2 separate regions of the Homo sapiens genome follow, and region 1 is linked to region 2. Evidence: promoter capture Hi-C in human tissues and cell types (Jung and others, 2019). All regions are on one chromosome and are shown on one strand. Each heading gives the region's core, a stretch centred on a gene start or on the middle of the fragment in contact. The rest is flanking DNA. Distances are from core to core; before and after follow the strand shown.

The links. The method cuts DNA at HindIII sites, captures the fragments that hold promoters and counts their contacts. A contact is called where the count stands out against the background at its distance.
Region 1: a fragment that was not itself captured here is called in contact with the fragment with the promoter of MMP25 in region 2 in 1 of the 25 tissues and cell types used here (lymphoblastoid cells).

The regions. Positions count from the first base shown.
Region 1 is chr16:3,507,445-3,513,756 of GRCh38, forward strand. It overlaps CLUAP1 (clusterin associated protein 1), which reads left to right. Exons shown (of 12, transcript NM_015041.3): 4 at 845-1,024; 5 at 4,939-5,034. Among named protein-coding and RNA genes, the nearest start is that of CLUAP1, 9.6 kb to the left of the region's middle. RefSeq lists an enhancer at 2,471-2,530. The HindIII fragment of the contact is 6,420 bases long and covers 696-6,312 here.
Region 2 is chr16:3,045,072-3,051,318 of GRCh38, forward strand. MMP25 (matrix metallopeptidase 25) reads left to right here and starts at 1,490. Exons shown (of 10, transcript NM_022468.5): 1 at 1,490-1,945; 2 at 2,344-2,476; 3 at 4,938-5,073; 4 at 5,183-5,475. The coding sequence starts at 1,847. RefSeq lists enhancers at 443-522, 2,371-2,950, 4,442-5,034 and silencers at 963-1,162, 1,203-1,492. The HindIII fragment of the contact is 14,233 bases long and covers 1-3,816 here.

The DNA.
Region 1 (6,312 bases), core at 2,656-5,155, 460 kb after region 2:
AGGTGCTTGGGAGGCTGAGGTGGGAGGATTGCTTGAGCCCGGGAGGTTGAGGCTGCAGTGAGCCGGGATCATGTCATTGCACTCCAGCCCAGGTGACAGAGTGAGACCCTATCTCAAAAAAAAAAAAAAAATTAAAAACATTATGAAACAAAATGGAGTAAAATGACTTTTTACCCTATCTGCCCTGGGCCAAGTTCCATTCCAAATAACCACTATTTTAAATCTCTTCCAGAGTTTGTGTGTGTGTGTGTGTGTGTGTGTGTGTGTGTGTGTGCAAATAAAAATATATATTTTTCCTTTGTTTTACACAAATGGTACTGTATTCTACTTGATGTACTTACTGTACACTACAAGATGTTTAGCATCTTGCTTTACTTAATGGTATATTTTAGAGAACTTTCCAAATACATATAGAATTTCCTCATTCTGTTTACGCCTGAGTGGTATTGCTTGCATGGATTTGCCATAATTTATGTAATTTATATAGGTAGGCTTTTAGGTTGTCTGAAGCTTTGCTCTTTGGAACAGTGCTGTAACAAATAACCTGTACATCTCATTTTGTTTGTGTTTGAGTGTGTCCCTAGAATAAGTTCTTAGATTTGGGATTGCTGGGTCAAAAGATATGTGCATTTGTAATTTTGATGTCTTTTACCAAATTGCTCTCCATCAAGATTGTCCCAGTTTATACAACCACTCACAATGTTTGAGTCACTTGAATGCTTTGCTTTTATTAGGTTATATCCCAGTTGTCAGCAGAGGCATTTTCAACTCACCTACATGGGATTTAGTTTAGACATTACATGGAAAGGGCCTTCAACTTTTTTTTTTTTTGGTCTAAAAATAGGCCACCAAGGCACATATAAAACTCAACACTAAGAAGCTTTATCAAGCAGATGGGTATGCGGTAAAAGAGCTGCTGAAGATCACATCTGTCCTTTATAATGCTATGAAGACCAAGGGGATGGAGGGCTCTGAAATAGTAGAGGAAGATGTCAACAAGTTCAAGTTTGATCTTGGCTCAAAGGTAAGGACAACAAAAGCCTTGTAGTGGGCGATGGAGCGTTGATTTCTTGAGCTCTGAAGTGGAAGGAGTCTGCTACAGCTCCGCTGCTTTTCTTCCTCCTCAGCTGAGGGCAGTTTGTCAGTTTTGTGCTCATCAGCATTTGGATAAAGTCAAAGTCACAATCCACTAATTCAACTATTTATTAAAAGCTTAGTATTTGTCAGGTAGCATTCAAGCGCTGAGGATACAGTTGTGAACAAAAAGGACAAAAATCGTGTGTTTATTCTCTTCAGTTAGGGGAGTCAGACTGTGAACAATAAGAGGTGTGGAAGGCCAGATGCAGTGCAGGCTGTGGAGAATAATAAGCTGGGATGGGGATGGATGCTGCCCAGAGTGATCTTAAATCGGGTGATCAGGAAGGCCTCATGGATTGGATGGTGTTTCCAGCAGAGATCCAAGGGAGGGAAAGAGTGAGTTGTGCGGGTGGCGGGTGGCGTCAGGGTGTCTCAGGATGATAATTTGTTTTGGGCTGGGTGCAGTGACTCACTCCTGTAAGCCAAACACTTTGGGAGGCCGAGGTGGGAGGATCCTTTGATGCCAAGAGTTCCAGACCAACCTGGGCAACATAGTGAGACGCCATTTTTACCAAAAAAAAGAAAAAAATTAGCTAGGCGTGGTGGTACACACCTGTGGTCCCAGCTGCCCAGGAGGCTGAGGTGGGAAGATCTCTTGAGCCCAGGCAGTCAAGCCATGTTCATGGCACTGCGCTCCCGCCTAGGCAACAGAACGAGACCTTGTCTGGGGGGAAGAAAAAAAATGTGTTTTGTGTGTTTGAGGAAAAGCAAGGAGGCCGTGTGATGAGGGTTGGGATTGACAGACCCTCTGGCGCCTGGGAAGCCCCTGGAAAGCCTTTGTCTTTGCCTCTAAGGTGGGAATCGTTGGGATCCAAGCGGAACCTTCTGTGCTTATTTCCCGTCCAAAGGGTTGCTCTGGCTGCTGAGCCGCCATCAGACCGAAGCAGGCGGCAGGGCTGGAAGCAGCGAGCCTGTTTGGAGAGTGAGGGGTGACCGTGGCTTTGAGCAGAGTGCTGGTGGGACAGGTGCCGTCAGGTGTCAGGGAGCGACCACAGCAGCAAGCCAGAAATAAAGGTTAAGCCGTTACTCTGAGGCCCAAGGCCTCAGAGCAGGAGACCTAGGAATGAAGGCCCCGGGGCTGGGAGTGCACCTAAGAGTGTGGCCACGCAGGGTACGTGAAACCACAGTGCACTGGCTGAGCTCCAAGTCTGCTGCAGGGAAGAAAGCTTCCCCTGTGAGGCCTGCTAGGTGAGGCCTTGTCATGGTCTATAGTTGGGCTTGAAAAGCCACACACAGCTTTTTTGTTTTGTTTTTGTTTTGTTTTGAGACGGAGTTTCAGTCTGTGGCCCAGGCTGGAGTGCAATGGCACGATCTTGGCTCGCTGCGCCTCTGCCTCCCAGGTTCAAGAGATTCTTCTGCCTCAGCCTCCTAAGTAGCTGGGATTACAGGTACACACCACCATGCCCAGCTAATTTTTTTTTTTTTTTTTTGAGATGGAGTTTCACTCTTGTTGCCCAGGCTGGAGTGCAATGGCACAATCTCAGCTCACTGCAACCTCTGCCTCCCAGGTTCAAGTGATTCTTCTGCCTCAGCCTCCTGAGTAGCTGAGATTACAGGCATGCGCCACCACACCCAGCTAATTTTTTACTTGTAGTAGAGTCAGGGTTTCTCCATGTTGGTCAGGCTAGTCTCGAACTCCTGACCTCAGGTGATCTGCCCGCCTCAGCCTCCCAAAGTGCTAGGATTACAGGCGTGAGCCACCGCACCCGGCTTTGTATTTTTTTTTTTTTTTTTAGCAGAGATGGGGTTTCACCATGTTGGCCAGCTAGTCTCAAACTCCTGACCTCAGGTGATCTGCCTGCCTCGGCCTCCCGTAGTGCTGGGATTATAGGCGTGAGCCACCGCGCCTGTCCTCACATGTGGGTTTTTAACCAGGAGCGACACTCGTCAGCAAGAGAAGTGTCTAGAGATTGGGGCATATTTTGATGGTAGATCTCACGGGATGAGGCATGGGTTGAGAGTAAGTCAGGTGCTACAGGCCGGGTCTTGGGGCAGCCGTGCGGCAGAGCTTGCAGAGCTCATGGGTGTGTTCCGCCTCTGTGCTGTACTCTACGGGAACCACTGGCCACATGTGGCAAGCACAACTGAGGAACTGAGTTGAGTTCTGCATTTTCTTTAATTCTTAAGTAATTTAAGTGAAAATGGCCACATGTGGCTATTGGTTACTATATTAGACATCACTGCTCTGAAGTTTTTTGTGTGAGCCCCTGGAAGGATGAAGTTGCCATGTACTGAAGCAGAGAAGGTTCTGCACATGCTCCATTTGCCACGCCGATTGGCTGTCCAGGTGGAGATGGTGCACAGGTAGCTGGTATGTGAAACTAGAGCCCAGGGAAAGCCCAGGCTGGAGCTGGGAGCTGGGGAGCAATCAGCACACAGATGGTATTAAAGCCTTGAGGGTAGGAGCAGAGCCAGCAGAAAAGACGGGGGGTCCAGGAATGAAACTCTGACTCGCTCCACTTTTGAGAAGCAGAGAAGGTGACAGACTCCTGCAAAGAAGTTTGGGGATGTGCTGCTCGGAAGGGAAGAAAAGCAGCTAGAGCCAGAGCAGGCTGGATCCTGGAGGACTAAGGAAGAGGGAAGCAAGCTATCAAAGCCATCAGCTGCAAATGAAGAGGGAGAGTTGTTGCTAGTGGGTTGAAAATGAGAGCCAGAAGGTGAGGATTGGTTGTCCAGGAGAGAGGGAGAGTGAGCAGAGCAGGGAGACGTTTATGTTTGGGCTCCTTAGAAGAGTTAGCATATTCTAGGAAGAAGGGGTGACACACACATCCTAAGAAAGAAGCCTGTGCACAGGGCTCAGTGCTAAATCCTCATTGTGGTTGTCATCACCTTCCTGGCAACAGCTGCCCATCTGTGGAGCCCAGAACCATTGTAAGTCCTTAGTGGGTGCCACCCGATTTGCGCCTCTCCAAGCCTGTGGAGGAAAGTCTGAGGCAGAGAAGGAGGGCAGGGGAGGACGAAACACAGGACGTCAGGCTGCTGCAAGAGGATGTGTGTCCCTCAGGCTGTCCCTTTGTGTGGCCGCTCTGCTGCCGTCAGGCACCCTACTGTGACAAAGTCCAAGTAGGAAGCACGTCAGCTTTCTCCCAGCTATGCCCTCCTGGTTGTGGCTTCAGTTTGAGGTGACATTAGGTTTTTTGGAGAGACCCAGGCGTCCTGGAATTGGTCTCTTTAGTACTTAGATGATCATTTCCTGAGCGTGTGTCCCGCAGCCTGTGAGCATGTAACTGGGGAAGCACATGTTTGTGGTCACGTGTCCCAACCAAAGGTAGGAGCTGACATGAACAGGCTAGTGGTTGAATGCATGTTAAAAATCTGTGGCTGGCCGGGCACGGTGGCTCACGCCTGTGATCCCAGCACTTTGGGAGGCCGAGGTGGGTGGATCACCTGAGGTCAGGAATTCAAGAGCAGCCTGACCAACATGTAGAAATCCTGTCTCTACTAAAAATACAAAATTAGCCGGGCGTGGTGGCACATGCCTGTAATCCCAGCCACTTGGGAGGCTGAGGCAGGAAAATTACTTGAACCTGGGAGGTGGAGATTGCGGTGAGCCGAGATCGCGCTATCACACTCCAGCCTAGGCAACAAGAACGAAACTCCGTCTCAAAAAAAAAAAAAAAAAAATCTGTGGCTGGCTGAACATGGTGGTTCTGCCTATAATCCCAACACTTTGGGAGGCTGAGGTCGGAGGGTCACTTGAGGCCAGGAGTTAGAGAGCAGCCTGGGTAACATAGCCAAGACCCTGTCTCTATTAAAAAACATCTGTTGCTGAGGTTTCTGTTTTTGTTATTTTCCTTCCAGATTGCAGATTTGAAGGCAGCCAGGCAGCTTGCGTCTGAAATCACCTCCAAAGGAGCATCTCTGTATGACTTGCTCGGCATGGAAGTAGAGTTGAGGGTAAGCATTCCAGTACTTCCTTAACCATGCAGATTTTCTCTTCAAGGTTTTCTTTTTCAATTCTGTTTCTCCCTTTTCAGTTCTGATTTAATGAAATACACCTGGTTGAATGAGCTAATGTGTGGAAAGGTGATAGAGGATATTAGCTGTCCTTCCTGCTTCTGGTGGGCACTGGTCTAGCTTTATTTATTTATTTATTTATTTTTATTTATTTATTTTTGAGACGGAGTCTCGCTGTGTTGCCCAGGCTGGAGTGCAGTGGCGCAATCTCGTCTCACTGCAAGCTCCGCCTCCCAGGTTCACGCCATTCTCCTGCCTCAGCCTCCCAAGTAGCTGGGACTACAGGTGCCTGCCACCACACCCGGCTAATTTTTTGTATTTTTAGTAGAGACAGGGTTTCACCGTGTTAGCCAGGATGGTCTCAATCTCCTGACCTCGTGATCTGCCTGCCTTGGCCTCCCAAAGTGCTGGGATTACCGGTGTGAGCCACCGCGCCCGGCACTGGTCTACCTTTAACTTCTTGTTTAGGAGTGGCAGCTCCATGGCATGTGACTGAGCTGTCCTTGTTGTGCCCACTGGCAGACTTTATTGATCATGATGTTTTTTTCTGGTGTACTCTGCTTCAGCATTTTCTCAAAAATGATCTTCTGAGCTTGCAGTTCCCCGACCTTGCTGCCCAGTGCAAACACCTGGGGACCTCTAAAGACTTCTGAAGCCTGGCTTTCACTCTGGGGTCCTTGTTATGGAATGTGACCTGGGCATTGGGAGTTTTCAGATTCTCCCGGGTGATTCTAACAGCAGTTTGGGACCAGCAATCTTGGCATCACTTCCAGTCAGCTGAAGTTGATGTTGCAGTGGAGACTGATTTGATTTGCAATCCTTATTCCAGCCAATGCCAGCCAAGAAGTATGTGCCATCACCTACATTTAAGTAGCTGTTTAAGACTGGAGTGGTGTTTATTTTTTATTTTTTTAATTTTGTTATTTTTTTTGAGACAGTCTCACTCTGTTGCCCAGGCTGGAGTGCGGTGGCTCAATCTCGGCTCACTAAAACCTCCGCCTCCCAGGTTCAGGTGATTCTCCTTCCTCAGCCTCCTGAGTAGCTGCAATTACAGATATGTGTCACCACACCCGGCTAATTTTTGTATTTTTAGTAGAGATGGGGTTTCATCATGTTGGCCAGGTTGGTCTCAAACTCCTGATCTCAAGTGATTCGCCTTCCTCGGCCTCCCAAAGTGCTGGGATTACAGGCATGAGCCACTGCGTCTGGCCTAGAGTG
Region 2 (6,247 bases), core at 240-2,739:
CGGTGGCTCACGCCTGTAATCCCAGAACTTTGGGAGGCCGAGGCCGGCAGATCACGAGGTCAGGAGATGGAGACCATCCTGGCTAACACGGTGAAACCCCGTCTCTACTAAAATACAAAAAAATTAGCCGGGCGTGGTGGCGGGCGCCTGTAGTCCCAGCTACTCGGGAGGCTGAGGCAGGAGAATGGCGTGAACCAGGGAGGCGGAGTTTGCAGTGAGCCGAGATCGCGCCACTGCACTCCAGCCTGGGCGACAGAGCGAGACTCCGTCTCAAAAAAAGCAAAACAAAACAAAACAAAACAAAACAAAAGAGGACGATACTTCTGGGGTGTGCAAGCGCAGGGGGACGGCCGTGTGGGGAAACAGCAAGAGGACGCCCATCTGCCTGCCCAGGAGGAGGCATCCGGAGAAACTAGCCCCTCAGGCACCTTGATCTTGGCCTTCCAGTTTCCAGAACTGTGAGAACGTAAACTTCTGGTTGAGCCTCCCAGTCCTTGGTGTTTTGTTCTGGCGGCCCCAGCGAGCGGGCGCGGGATCGCAGTGTTTGCCTTTGCATCTCCAGCTCCGCATCCTGCTCGCTGTTTATTTTGTGAGCAGCTCCGGCGGCTGCCCCTGAACTGCTCCGAGACTGAGCAGTTTAACTCACACTCGCCCACCCGCCCTCCCCAGGAAGCCTCCCGCCCGCTTCCTCCAGTTCCTTCCCCACCTGTCCGGCCTCCTAGCCCGGTGCTCTCGGCGCGGGAGGAGGCGGCTCGCAGACCCCCAGGTCTCGGCTTCCCGGATCTCCCCCGCCTACTCACTCCCCGGTCCCCGGCTCCCGGCACTGGCAGGCGCTGTGGCTTCCGCGCAGTGGCTGCAGCATTTAAATGTCCGGCACTTAGGGAGAGGGGTGCAGTCGCGGAGCAGCCGCTGCTCCCGGCATCTAGAGGGGCCCAAACCCCCGCGTGCCCAGGCCGAGCCCCGCGCGCAGCCCACGTGGGCTGAGGGACTGAGTATTGGCCCTCGGGCAGCTGCAACCGCGCACAGCTGGAGCTGGCGGGGCGGAGGGCGGGCCGGGACCCCGCGGGGAAGGAGGCTTCCTTCCCAGCCTCCTGCTGCCCGGAAATCCCCCCGGCTCTCAGACAACCTGCCCCACGGGGTCCTGGGGGGAAGGAGAGGGGCGGGATACAGGGATGGGGAGGGCTGGCTGAGCCGAAGGCCCGGGCCGCCCTCCCCCAGGCCGCGCGGCTTCGAGAAAGCAGAAGCGAGCCCTGCCCCGGGGAGTCCCACAGGAGCGGGGATCTGGGAAGAGAAACTTGCGGACGAGGGAGTTAGAGCCGTGGACCCCCGGCCCCCGCCCGGGCGTCCTGCGTCGGAGGAGGGTCTCTGGGTCGGGCAGGGGCCACCTCTTGGCCCGCCCCTTGTCGCTGGACGTCCGAAGATTGGGCCATTTCCCTTGCCGCGCCCTTACCGCATATCGGGGTGCGCCCGGCCCGGCCCGGCCCGCCCCACCCAGCCCTCCGCTCGCGCCCGGAGAGGAGGGGCCGCTGGCGCAGCGCCCCGGGACCCCGAGAGGCCGCCGCGGCACATCCAGACCTCCGCCGCTCCCGCGCCCTCTCAACCATCCTGGGATTCCCGGGCCCACCCGACCCAGCGGCGCGACCCTGGCCCTCCGGGACCCTCCGCTGACTCCACCGCGCACTTCCCGGGACCCCCACACACATCCCAGCCCTCCGGCCGATCCCTCCCTACTCGGTGCCGGGTGCCCCCCGCCCTCTCCAGGCCCGGATCTCCTCCCCCAGGTCCCCGGGGCGGCCCCAGCCAGGCCCCCTTCGAACCCCGCCGGCGGCCCGGGCTGGGGCGCACCATGCGGCTGCGGCTCCGGCTTCTGGCGCTGCTGCTTCTGCTGCTGGCACCGCCCGCGCGCGCCCCGAAGCCCTCGGCGCAGGACGTGAGCCTGGGCGTGGTGAGCGCGGGGTCCGCAGGCTCCTGGGGTCTGCAGAGAGATTGGGAGAGGGAAGCCGGGCCCGGACTCCTGGGTCCGGAGGAGGCAGGGGCCAGATTCCAATATCCAAAGAGTGACTGAGGATGGGGTCTGTGCTCCCGGCTTCTTGGGTCTGTCGGGAAGTTTGGGGCTGGGATTTGGAGCTCTGGAAAGGAGCTGAGGTGCGGAGCTGAAGTCCAGACAAGACTGGCAAACCCGGGACTGAAGCGGGGACCTATGGAGGGGAGCAGGCAGGCATCCGGGGCTGGGGCCCTGGGCTCTGGGTGCCTGGGAGGGGCAGGGCTGCCAGGATGGTGGTGGGCAGAGAGAGCCCATACTTTTCACCCAGCCCGCTTCACCTGCCCCCTCCGATGCCCTAGGACTGGCTGACTCGCTATGGTTACCTGCCGCCACCCCACCCTGCCCAGGCCCAGCTGCAGAGCCCTGAGAAGTTGCGCGATGCCATCAAAGTCATGCAGAGGTTCGCGGGGCTGCCGGAGACCGGCCGCATGGGTAGGTGGCCCCCACCCCTCCCCAGCCCTGCCTCTGCACCCAGCCTGTCCACCGCCCAACAGCCTTTAGACCTCAGTGTGCTCCTGGAACACGGAGCTGTGAAGATGCTGATCTCAGGCCCCAAACCCAGAGGGCCTCAGGCGTTCATCTTTCCATAAGCATTTATCAAGAACCTGGTGGCTCATGCCGGTAATCCCAGGGTTTTGGGAGGCGGAGACTCAAGGATTGCTTCAGGCCAGGAGTTTGAGACCAGCTTGGCCAACAAAGTGAGACCCCCCCACTCTCCAAGGATTTTTTTTTTTTTTTTTTGAGACGGAGTATCCCTCTTTTTGCCCAGGCTGGAGTGCAATGGTACCATCTCGGCTCACCGCAACCTCTGCCTCCCAGGTTCAAGTGATTCTCCTGCCTCAGCCTCCTGAGTAGCTGGGATTACAGGCACGCACCATCACACCAGGCTAATTTTGTATTTTTAGTAGAGACGGGGTTTCTCCATGCTGATCAGGCTGGTTTCGAACTCCTGGCCTCAGGTAACCCGCCGGCCTTGGCCTCCCAAAGTCCTGGGATTACAGGTGTGAGCCACCGTGCCCAGTCCTCTAAGGATTTTTTTAAATTTAGCTGAGTGTAGTGGCATAGGCCTGTGGTCCCAGCTACTCAGAACGCTGAGATGGGAAAATTGCTTAAGCCCAGAAGTTCAAGGCTGCAGTGAGCTATGATTGCACCGTTGCACTCCAACCTGGGCAACAGATGGAGACCCAGTCTCTAACCAAATATACTTTGAGCATCTCTTAGATGCCACGCCCTTTCAGCTCCAATGGTATAGTGATAAATAAAGTAGGTAAGGTTCCTGCTCTCATGGAGCTAACTTTCTCGAGGGAGAGAGAGAGAGACAGATCAAGAACATAAATATGAAAGATAATTTCAGATGGCGGTGAGTGTTTAGAAAAAAATAAAATGCTATTGGCATTGAGGGGCTGGTCTGGTTAGGGCAGGTCCCTCTGAAAAGTGTCATATGAGCTGAGACCACAAAGAGGAGGAACCAGCCATGGGAAGATGTGGAAGAAGAGTGTCCCGGGCAAGTGCAAAGACCCCACGGCACGCAGAAGCTTGTGTGCCTGGAGCAAAAGGAGCATTGAAGAGCTCTGGCGAGAGGCCTCAGCCAAGGGCCCTGAAAGGTGATTAGGGTTGATTCCAAGGGTGATTAGCAACCACCTAAGTGTTCTCAGAAGGGAAGCAATTCAGAACTTGGTATGACTTGCAATTTTTTTTTTTTTTTTTTTAGACAGAGTCTCACTCTGTGGCCCAGGCTGCAGTACAGTGGCGCAATCTCGGCTCATTGCAATCTCTGCCTCCCGGGTTCAAGTGATTCTCCTGCCTCAGCCTCCTGAGTAGCTGGGACTACAGGCATCCGCCACCATGCCCAGCTAATTTTTTTGTATGTTTAGTAGAGACAGGGTTTTGCCATGTTGGCCAAGCAGGTCTCGAACTCTTAGCCTCAAGCGATCAGCCCACCTTGGCCTCCCACAGTGCTGGGATTACAGGCATGAGCCACCGTGCCCGGCTTTGACTTGCAGTTTTAAGCTTCCTCTGGGTCCTGATGGAGAATGGAAGGCAGGAGCCCTGAGACCAGGCAGAAGACGGCTGCGGAGTCCACACGAGGGATGGTGGCAGAAGGATGGGTGGCATATGTGGCCAGAAGTAGTTGGATTCGGGGTGTATATTTTGGAGGCAGGGCCGAGGAACTCTTCTGTGGGGTTAAGTGGGCAGGAAGAGGGAATTTGAAGGATCTGGCTCACTACAAGGAAAGGTAGGCCCTGTGTCTGTCCTGGTGACTCACAAACAGCCTAGAACAGTGTCTGGCATCTATATGTCCTTCATCACTATTTGCCGCCTCAATAAATGAGGCGCAGTTTGACCTTAATTTGGAGATGAGGCTACTGGGGATGGAGCCCAGCTGGGAAAGGGGACCCCAGAGAGACCTAACCCAGGAGGGGGTGGCTTGCCACAGGAGGCCAGAGACCCAGCCGGCCTGGGCACTTTGGACCTAATCTGGGTTTGAGGAGAACTTGGCAGTGATGGTGTGAGGCCTGCACAGCTCCCAGGGGGTTCCAGCCTCAAAGGGTCCTCACTGCATACCCAGGGCTCCTTTCTCCAGAGTCCGCCCACCAGGGCCCAGGGAAGCTGGATGCAAAATCCTGGCCTGAGCCTCTGAGCATCACCTGCATGCAGCCAGTTTGTCCCAGGCCAGGTGACGCCACTCCAAAGGGCAGTAGGAATGGCTTGGTAGGAGCTGGCTTCCAGAGACAGACTGCCTGGGTTCAAACCTGGGCTGTGGGGCCTTCGAGGGCACATTTCTTGAGCCCTCTGAGCCTCAGTTTTCCCATGTAGAAAGTTGACTGGTGCTATGATTAAGGCAGGCTCTCCTATTGTGGACACACCCCCCACCGCCAAATGTCTCCCGCAGACCCAGGGACAGTGGCCACCATGCGTAAGCCCCGCTGCTCCCTGCCTGACGTGCTGGGGGTGGCGGGGCTGGTCAGGCGGCGTCGCCGGTACGCTCTGAGCGGCAGCGTGTGGAAGAAGCGAACCCTGACATGGAGGTAGGTCCTGGGGCCCACCCGCACCCTGGCCCTGCCTGCTGGGCTCCGGCTTTGAATGGCTGCCTGCTCCCTCCACGGCCACCCTTACACCTCACTCCCCTCTCCCCAGGGTACGTTCCTTCCCCCAGAGCTCCCAGCTGAGCCAGGAGACCGTGCGGGTCCTCATGAGCTATGCCCTGATGGCCTGGGGCATGGAGTCAGGCCTCACATTTCATGAGGTGGATTCCCCCCAGGGCCAGGAGCCCGACATCCTCATCGACTTTGCCCGCGCCTTCCACCAGGACAGCTACCCCTTCGACGGGTTGGGGGGCACCCTAGCCCATGCCTTCTTCCCTGGGGAGCACCCCATCTCCGGGGACACTCACTTTGACGATGAGGAGACCTGGACTTTTGGGTCAAAAGGTAAAATCTCCTCTCTTATGAGAGATCCTCTTGCCAGGTCTGGTCTTAAGAATAAGTTTTCTGTTGTGTGTTTTGTTTTGTTTAAGAAACAAGGTCTTGCTCTGTTGCTCAGGCTAGAGTGCAGTGGTGCAATCATAGCTAACTGCAACCACGAACTTCTGGCTCAAGCAATCCTCCCACCTCAGACTCCAGAGTAGCTGGGATCACTGGTGCACACCACCATACCTGGCTATTTTTTTTGTTTGTTTTTTTTACTTTTTGTAGAAACAGGGTCTCATTATCTTGCTCAGGCTGGAGTGCAGTTGCACGATCACGGCTCACTGCAGCCTTCACCTCCTGGGCTCAAGTGATCCTCCCTCCTCAGCCACCACGTAGCCAGGACCACAGATGTGCACCACCACACCTGGCTAGTTTTAAAACTTTTTGTAGAGATGGGGCTTCACTATGTCACCAGGGCTGGTCTTGAACTCCTGGGCTCAAGTGATCCTCCCATCTTGGTCTCTCAAAGCATTGGGATTATAAGCATGAGCCACCACTCCTGGCCAATAATTAGGTTTAAATTATATTTACTGATGGAGGCTTTATCAGCTGGGAGGTCTCCAGAGAAACAAAACCAACAGGATGTGTGTGTGTGTGCACGTGTGTGTGGGATGTGTGTGTGTGTGTATGTGTGTGGGGGGGGTGTGTGTGTGCGTGTGTGTAAAGAGATTTATTTTAAGGAATTGGCTCACGGGATTGTAGGGGATAGCAAGTCCAAAATTTGTACGGCAGG